3 separate regions of the Homo sapiens genome follow, and all the other regions are linked to region 1. The links are contacts of gene promoters, found by promoter capture Hi-C in human tissues and cell types (Jung and others, 2019). All regions are on one chromosome and are shown on one strand. Each heading gives the region's core, a stretch centred on a gene start or on the middle of the fragment in contact. The rest is flanking DNA. Distances are from core to core; before and after follow the strand shown.

Region 1 (2,740 bases), core at 116-2,615:
AAAATCGTCTTCCACAAAACCGGTCCCTGGTGCCAAAAAGATTGGGGACGGCTAATCTAGAGGATTCATTCAAAGAGTTAAATAACAAAGAAAGTAGAGCTAGAAGTTCGTCTGGAAGGAGCGGAAGTGTCGTGGAATTATTATTTTAAGATCAGGCATAAGTGTGTATGTGTGGCAGGGAGGGAGATCACGGAGAGGGAGAGGTTAAAGATGTGGGTGAGGCTGCTAAATAGGGATAAGGGTTTCTTTTCCCTTGAAACCAGAGGAAAGGGAGATAGACGCGTTATAGAGTCGCCTTGAAAACACTCGGATGTTAAGAGAGACTGGGTGTTATGAGGGCGATCTATATAAGGGGGGAGGAACCAGGAACTTGGCTGTGGCCTGGGAATAGGGAGAACCGTGAATTTTTCTTGAAAACGAAGGGGGTCGCCCGTGAGCAGCGAGGAGAGCGGTGGGAGGCAGCGCCGAGTCTTGCCGCTCCCGCCTGGCAGGGGCGGGCAGGACGCAAACCTTCCTTCCCAGTCCCTCGGTTACCAGGGCATCCCCGGCTCTCTGCAATTCGGGAACCTTGCCAGAAGGGCTCCCACCTCCCCAAGCCCCCGCGGCCCCACAAGGTCCAATTAGGGCTTTCGGCGGCCTAACTGGGGAGAGGCCGTGGTGATGCAGAGGTTTAACCAGCATCCGCCGGGAGCCCCGGGGTCCAGGCCCGGCGCTGGAGTCCCGCAGCGAAGCCTCGCAGCCCCCACGCCTCTCGACTCTAGGCTTGTGCCCTAAAAGCGGCCTGGGTTCCCTGGCGCACCCTCCTCTTTCTTAGCTTCTTTGTCCCTAAGGGAAACCTCCCCGTACCCTTAGGTGGGGCTCCCGGTCACTGCCACCACCCCTCTTGCTGCCGAAGCCGGCTCCCTGGCCACCTGGTGCCCTGCCGGGGTATTCCAAATCTGGGCAGCAGAAGCCGGCCGCCGCCGCCTTCATCTGGAAAGGCTTAAGCCTTCTCCGGGTGGGGAAGAAGTCAGAAGGCCGCCTGTCTCCCCGTCCCCCAACCCCCCAACTCCCCAACTCGGTCCTCCAGGCTCCGAGGGGTGCAGCTCGGCCCTGGGCCGCGGGGCGCACGTGCAGCAGAGTCCGGCCGCCCGGCCTCCCCGCCCCGCCTCCGCCGCCGGCCTTTGGCGCAGGGCTGCGGATGCCGCGCGAGCCGTCTCCTTTGCACTTTCCCGGCTGCGGTCCGGTCGTTCGGGGCAGCCCGGCCGGGGGTAGAGGACCCGGAGGAGGGGAGGAGCCGGAGGGAGAGGGGAAGGAGGGGGCCCGCCGGCCCCGCCCCCGCCCCGCCCCCCGCGGCCGGAGCCCGGGCTGCAGCCCGGCGCGCCTGAGCCTGCGAGTCCGCGAGCCAGCGAGCTGCGGCTGCGGCCTCCCCTGCGCGCAGCTACCCGGGCGTCCCGGCCCGCGGCCCCGCTAACCCCGGGGCCCGCGCCCCCGCGGCAGGGATGCATCATGGCCACGCTGGCTTGCCGGGTGCAGTTCTTGGACGACACGGACCCTTTCAACAGCACCAACTTCCCCGAGCCCAGCCGGCCGCCGCTGTTCACGTTCCGCGAGGACCTCGCGCTCGGCACCCAGCTGGCGGGGGTCCATAGGCTGCTGCAGGCGCCGCACAAGGTACGACCCGGCGGGGTGGGCTGGGCCCCCTGGACTCAGCCCCCTGCCGCGGTGCGCGCCGGGGTGGGTCCCGGGGCTTCGTGGGCCCCCTGGGCTGGGCTGGGCGCGGCCCGGGGGGACCATCGCTCGAGGGCAAATCCCCCTCCCCGTTAGACAGAAGGGCTCGAGGCACCCGCTGGTTGGCGCAGGACCCTCCGGGGCGGGCGGGAAGGAACAGCTAGAGCCGGGGGCGGGCGTGGCAGAGCAGGTGCCGAGCCGGTCCGAGGCGGGATGGAGAAGGCTCCCCCGAGCCGCGCCGTTAGCTCGGCCGGGTGGGCGGGGTGGGGCTAGGACGCGGGCAGTCGGCCTCGGCACTCGGGCGGGCACCAAGCGGGGCGCGGGAAGAAGCGGAGCGCCGCGAGACTCAGGTCCCTTGGAGAGGAGAGCTCTGAGCGACGGCCGGGACAAAACCTCCCTCAGGCCTCTGGGGCCGCTGCGGGCGGCCACGCGACCCTCGCGACAAAGCACGCTTCCCGGCGACACCGCCTCCTCCTTCCCCCGGGGGCGCCGCCGGGGACGCCGGCCGCACACTGCGATAGCGCTCAGGGTATCCCCCTTTTCTTCTGAGAAGCAGGTGGCCTTGGGAACCTCGGAGGAGCAGTCGCTGTGGGAGGAGGGGCGGGGGCGCGGAGGGGCGGCGCGCTCACAAAGCCTCAGCTTGGCAGCCCGAAATGAGTGTCCCCTGGGAAGAATGGCTGCTCAGTCTACCCGTTAGAGAGGTTTTTTTTTTTTTATTTGTTATTTTTATTTAAATAAAACCTTTTGCAGGAGGATAGGCCTCTTGCAAAGCATTTGTTGCAAAGAGGTGGGTATTGAAAGCTAATCATTTCGTTACCTAGGAAAACCCTTACTCTCACTTAGACAGATTGAATGCAGCTTGCAAAATTACCTTCCCAGTATTTTTTCTGCCTAGGATTCATATCAAAGCTTGGAGATGATTTATTTCTTGAGGGTCGACATTAACACATATTTGGAAGAGATAAGCGTTGATGCCCAAAAGAACAAAATTGATTTAAAAAAAAACCTCGGATTTCTGTATGATGTTGAC
Region 2 (2,831 bases), core at 27-2,526, 140 kb after region 1:
GTGTGTGTGTGTGTGTGTGTGTGTGTATGTATGTAGTTACATAAGAGGAGACTTTTTATGTGATTATGAAGCCCAAGAAGTCTCATGATCTGCTGTCTGCAAGCTGGAGACTCAGGAAAGCCAGTGGTGTCATTGAGTTTGATGGCCAAGAACCAGGGGAGTGGGCAGTGTAACCTCTCAGTATGAGGCCATAAGCCTGAGAACCTGGGAGGTAGCTGGTGTTAAGTCCTAGAGTCCAAAGGCCTGAGAACCTGAAGCTCTGATATCCTAGTGCAGGAAAAGATGGATGTTCCAGCAGAGAAAGCATTTGCCCTCTTCGATTCTTTTGTTCTATGTGGTCCCTCAATGGATTAGATGATGCCCTCCCCATCCCCACAATGGTGAGGGGGCTCTTCTTTACTCAGTCTACAGATTTAAATGTGAATCGTTTCTAGAAATGCCCTCACAGACACACCCAGAAATAATGTCTTACTAGCTGTCTGGGTATCCCTTAGCCCAGTCAAGTTGACACTTAACCTCCACCATCTTAGTGACTCTTCTAGGGATCCTGTTAAAATGTAGGTGATGTTTTAGTAGGTCTGTACCGGTAGGACCAAGGTTCTTTGTTTCGAATAAGCTCCCAAGTGATGCTGATGCTGCTGGTCCAGGGACCATCCTTTGAATAGCTAAGGAATAAACTACCCAAAAAACAAGGGGAGCACTCAAGCTCGGGCAGCCATCCAATGAGCACCGGCCCAGCTGTCATCTTCTGCAGCAGAAGCAGGCGCAGGGCACTTCAGGAAGCCTTTCCACATCCGCCTGGGGAGAGCCTTCTCTTCCTGACAGAGGATGTGGCTGCTGATCTCCCACTCCCCTTCCTTATTTGAGGAGCTCCTTGAAAGGGCCACACGTCGGGGAGGGAAAGGGCGTGGGGCACTGTCCCAGCTGGACGCGCTGCCCGCCTCCTCTGAGTCTGCGTTGGTCAAATGAAGGGGCTCCTCCGGGCCTCCACGGCCCTCCCACTGCTCATATTCTGCCACCTGTGCCTGCTCCTCTGACCACCAAGCCCCCAAGGGCCACCAGTGCTGCTCCAGGACTCTGAAGATTATCTTGAGGCAGGAGTGGTGGAGGCCAAGCTTTGAAATTTTTCTTAATGAACCTAAGCACCTTTATGGTAGAAAAAACCCAATACATAATAAACTCTATTAATATCTCCCCACATAATCAACATAGTTCACATGCTTGTCATTTTTAAATGGCTCAGTAGTCGCATTCCCTTAGCTTGCCTGGATAGGCCATGTGTAGCCATTCCTCTGAGGCTGGGCACTTGGCCCATCTCTATTTTTTTTCCTCTTGTATTTTAAATGGTGGGGCTGTGACTATCTGCTGAGATTATCTCCACCCGCCACCCTCCTGCCCTGCTATTGCCTTGGATAAGCTTTTGCAATTGGCAGGGCACCCAGTTACATGGTCTTAGAGCATGCTATACTTTTTGCTTTTTTATAATATTTTCCCCAATTGCATGGTTGTGTGTGTAAGGTCATTCTCTCTTATAGATTCCTCAGTTCCAGGAGGATAGTCTCTTCCTTTCTCTCTTTGTCTTTGCAACATTCTTCGCAGCTAGAATATTGCCCAGCAAGCAGGAGCTCAGTAAAAATGGGTGAGGTGAGCAGGTATATGCCCCAGAGCTGGATGTTGAGGTGTGCTTCCCACAGGCTGCACCTGCCCACCAATGCGAGGTGAGGACCTGCATGAGCCAGGCATTGTCAGACCCTGGGCAAATTCAGAAGGGTGGGCATGAACCCTGCTTTCTGAGGAGAAAGGGGTGGTCAGTGGCCAATTCTACTTTAATGTGGTAAGTGCCAGAAAATGTGGAAGCTCAGAGTTGTACGGGAACATAGAGGATGAGGACGAGGCTGAAGCTGGAGTCTACAGGAAGTGTGACTGGAGACAGGGAGGCCAGAATTGGGTCCAGAAGGCTTCAGGAGGTTTTCTAGGAGGCCTGCTGCAGACTGCTGGACGTCTCTGTGGCTGTTGTAGTGGGCAGAGTCCCTGCTGGCAGAATTCTTAGCTTTGTGTCTGCTGGTAGGCTCCTTCTTATTTTTAAGCTTATGATAGAGATGATATGCTGGGAAACCACATGTTACAGGGAAGCTTCGCACAAACAGCTGTGCTGTGTAATTGCCGTGATGCTCCTTAATTATAGACATCACAGCCAAGTGCCATCTCTTCATCACATTTTAGACGCAGTGCCTGCCCCGTGGAACAAAATGTACCTCCTCATGGAATCGTGGACTCACTGAATTTGGTTGGTAGTGCTAGAAGGAACCTTGCTCAAGTTACAGTGACACGTTGCATGATTTTTTTAAAAAGCCCCAAAAACAAAATTAGAAAAGTCAAGTCAAATTATGCTAAGTTAGGATTTCTGACTTTAGTTCATGAAAGTCCGTGAATAAAGCTTTGGAATAGAATAATAAATTACTGATTACAGACTGTTTCCTCTATGAGTCATAGTGAGAGAGTGTTATTATTTTTCACAATTTAGAAGTGTCATTGCCAAAGACTGGAATACTTAGGAACTTCCAGACACTGGACATTCCATGTGTTCTGAGAATGCCCCCTCCCTGCTCCCCTTCTCCCAGATTCCCTTTCCCCATTGCTCTGTTTCATGTAATGTGTTTGCAAGGTTGTGGCTCAAACTTCCTTTAAGTATGTGGCATTCTTTGAGCTGAAAATAGCCTATGGAGGCTAGCAGTTGATTTTTTTTTCCTTTCAAGGTATATTCTTGATAATGTTTATCATACAGAAGATAAGATAATTTCCATATTTAGCTCAAAACTAGTGGATTTTAT
Region 3 (2,947 bases), core at 88-2,587, 230 kb after region 1:
ATGAGTGAGTGTAATGATGTGAGATCCATCCATGCTGGTATCATGGCTCTCGCCTGTCCATTTTCACTGCTGGGTAGTATTCCGTTGTATGGATGTACTGCAATTATTTATTAGTTCTCTGGTTGGTCCACATTTAGGTAATATCCAGGTTTTTTGAGTTGCAGACAATGCCAGCATGCACATTCTTGTTGTATTTCCTTGTGCATCCATGTGATTTTCTCTAGGATTTACCTAGGGGTAGAATTGCTGGTCAAGGGGTTATTCATAATGTTCTCATAACATACTGTGTATTTTCCAGCCCGGGTTAGAACTGCTACTTCTGAACACAGGAGTCTTGCATTCATCCTGGGTTGCTTCTTAGTAGCTGGGGCTTTTGTTCTTAGTCTTGTTCTCCCTGAGGCCCCTGCGGTGAGTGACTGTGTGACTGAGATGACTGGAGACTTTGGGCTGGGAAAAGACTTTTCCTTGGCCTATTTCCACTGGTCCCCAAGGGTCTTGCCTCTGTGACCATGGTTGAATTAGTTCAGTGTCCAATGGCTGGCCTGGCTGGACACAGGATGTTAGAGCCAGAAGGTGCCTTAGAGGCCTCCTACTCTAACCTCATTTTGCACATAGGGAAATTGAGGTCTAGAGGGCTCTGGTGACTTGCTGGTGGTTTTGTGGCTGGACAGTGATCGAGCTGTAGATGTAACCCAGCCAGAGTGCTTTCTGCATCATGAACAGAAGGAAGACCCATCTGTGAAGGATGCAAGCAGTCACTGTCTCCATCTGTGCATCACTGGGCCTGCCACATGACCATGGCCCAGTGCCTGCAACCCACCCCTGCTCCCTCCCGAGGGATGCTCTTCTTTCCCCTTTGATAACCTTGGCTTTGCAGTTTGTCCCTTTGCTTTTTCTTTCAACTGTGCCCCTTATTTCAGCCCTCACAGTCACAGCCATTCCTGTCCAAAACACTCTAGTGGTTGAGACCCTTCCCCGATCCTGAGCTGCCCCTCCATGTTCTGCCTGCTGGCCCCATCTTGCCTCCCTTCCTAAATCACAGAAAAGCTCAACTGGGCTCATCTGGAGGGACAGAATGCCTCTGGGATGCATTTGCAGTACCTAAGATTACATGGACTCACTGATTTCAAAGGAGTCTGTTTGATACGAACAAACATTGCTTTAATGCCATATGGATACAGCAGAAGTCACAGGAACAGCTTATAGACTGAATAAGTCTGAAAAACTGTCTCCAAAGTGGAACTCTCTGGGACTGGCTCTTCCTCCAGCTCCTGTCCCACGTCTTCCGCTGTCTACAGCCTGCGGTCCTCTCGGAGGCAGGATGCTTGACACCAGAGCAGTTTGCCCACAGGCAGGCTGGCTCCTGCCTGGGCTATTCCTGTGCGTGTCACAGTCTCCCCAACTCTCTCCTGCCCTGCCCAGCCCAGCACCTCTGCATTCCCTTTATCCTTTTGCCGAGTCTTGTACTTTCTTTTGAAATATCTTTCATTTCCATTTCTTTCCCTCTGCTCTCCTGCCTGCCCTCAGCCTCACTGCTGGCCTGCTTCTGTTCTCTGCACAGCTGCCTCTGGAGAAAATCTCCCTGCGGCGTGGCTTTCATGCAGCCATTGGAGGAAAACCCTAAGTTCCTCCCAGGCCTCAAGTTGTACCTCTTAATGTTTATTCTCCATAACCGTAATTTGGAACATCAGCAAGGCTCTGTGATTTCTAGACTTGGAGTACACCAAGAAAGTATGGAGTATCTCTTTCTCAGTGAGTGTTCGGGGAACACAGGGCAGTGATTGCCACAATCCAGTCTTTAGTCTTGGTCTGTGTGTTTAGGAAACTCCAGGACCCATACGCTCCTCTTCCCTGGCCACTTCCCTCAAGTCTCACCCTCCCTGGAAGAGAGAAGGAAGAAAAGGGACATCCATAGTGGCTTCTGTGGCACCTGGGGGACAGGGGACCAGTGGAGGTGTCTTTGGGCTGTCATGCCCATAGGAAGAGCTGCTGTGGCTACTGGTACTTGTGCTCAGCCTGGCAGAGGGAGCTTCTGGTTTCCTTCCCCATCAGAAATATTTCTGAGTCTCCTGTCTACTCTACTCTTGGCAGGAGAATGGAAACCGAAGCTCTTCCAAGAACCCTCATGAGTCATCTCAGATCCTTCCCAACCCTCTTTGTGTGAAGAATCAGTAGTTACCACGTGTTGTTCCACAAATCCTGGGTTCCCTCGGAGACCCACCGGGTCCCACCCACACCTGGAAGCAGAGAAATCACCCTCTAACCTCAACCGCAGAACATCCAGTTTTACCTGTTTGAGATTTTGAGATTGCATGGAGAGTTCTTTTGGAAAAGGTTCCATTAAAACGTTTAAAGGCAAGAAACCATTGTTAGAGGAGATGAAATAGTGTCTCGTTGTGTCATTCAAGGCCCTTCCTAACGTGGTCTCTACCATGTCCATGTTTGATTGACTTGCTGTCCCCAGCGTGATGCCCCATTGGGTGGCCTGCCTGCCTGGGCTTCCCACAGTGGGAGGGGCTTTGTAAGGATCCAGGTGAAGCTGAGCCACTTGGCCCTCTGCACAATATTATGCTTCCTCGAGGCCACAGACATGGTGGGTCTACTGGAGCTTCAACACATGAAGGACCTTAGAACTTGAACTGGGCTGTTTATAGAAGATAGGCAGCCAGATGTTAGTGCTTGGAACTCAAAATTCTCAGAGGCACAGTTTCCTCATCTGCAAACCAGGCATGATGAAAGTATCCTCCTGATAGTTTGGTGTAGTGTTAAATAGATGAGCATGTGCGACGCATTTGGATGCATCGCGGCTTGTAGTGAGGGCTGTGGCAGTGTCTGCCCTACTACTAACACAGCTAGAAGGGACAGGGCTGGGACAGAGAAGGTTGTGCTGGCCAGGTCCTAGAGGCCTTCCTCTGCTATGTCCTGAGCGTGTGCTCTTCAAGGGGCA

What was found. The method cuts DNA at HindIII sites, captures the fragments that hold promoters and counts their contacts. A contact is called where the count stands out against the background at its distance.
Region 2: a fragment that was not itself captured here is called in contact with the fragment with the promoter of FHOD3 in region 1 in 1 of the 25 tissues and cell types used here (aorta).
Region 3: a fragment that was not itself captured here is called in contact with the fragment with the promoter of FHOD3 in region 1 in 3 of the 25 tissues and cell types used here (hippocampus, mesendoderm cells and thymus).

Annotation. Positions count from the first base shown.
Region 1 is chr18:36,296,348-36,299,087 of GRCh38, forward strand. It overlaps FHOD3 (formin homology 2 domain containing 3), which reads left to right and starts at 1,366. Exons shown (of 29, transcript NM_001281740.3): 1 at 1,366-1,653. The coding sequence starts at 1,489. RefSeq lists an enhancer at 212-1,189 and silencers at 1,129-1,418, 1,539-1,608. The HindIII fragment of the contact is 5,975 bases long and covers 1-2,740 here.
Region 2 is chr18:36,439,543-36,442,373 of GRCh38, forward strand. All of the region lies in intron 3 of FHOD3 (formin homology 2 domain containing 3), which reads left to right. Among named protein-coding and RNA genes, the nearest start is that of FHOD3, 140 kb to the left of the region's middle. The HindIII fragment of the contact is 3,315 bases long and covers 1-2,831 here.
Region 3 is chr18:36,530,495-36,533,441 of GRCh38, forward strand. All of the region lies in intron 5 of FHOD3 (formin homology 2 domain containing 3), which reads left to right. Among named protein-coding and RNA genes, the nearest start is that of FHOD3, 230 kb to the left of the region's middle. The HindIII fragment of the contact is 6,512 bases long and covers 1-2,947 here.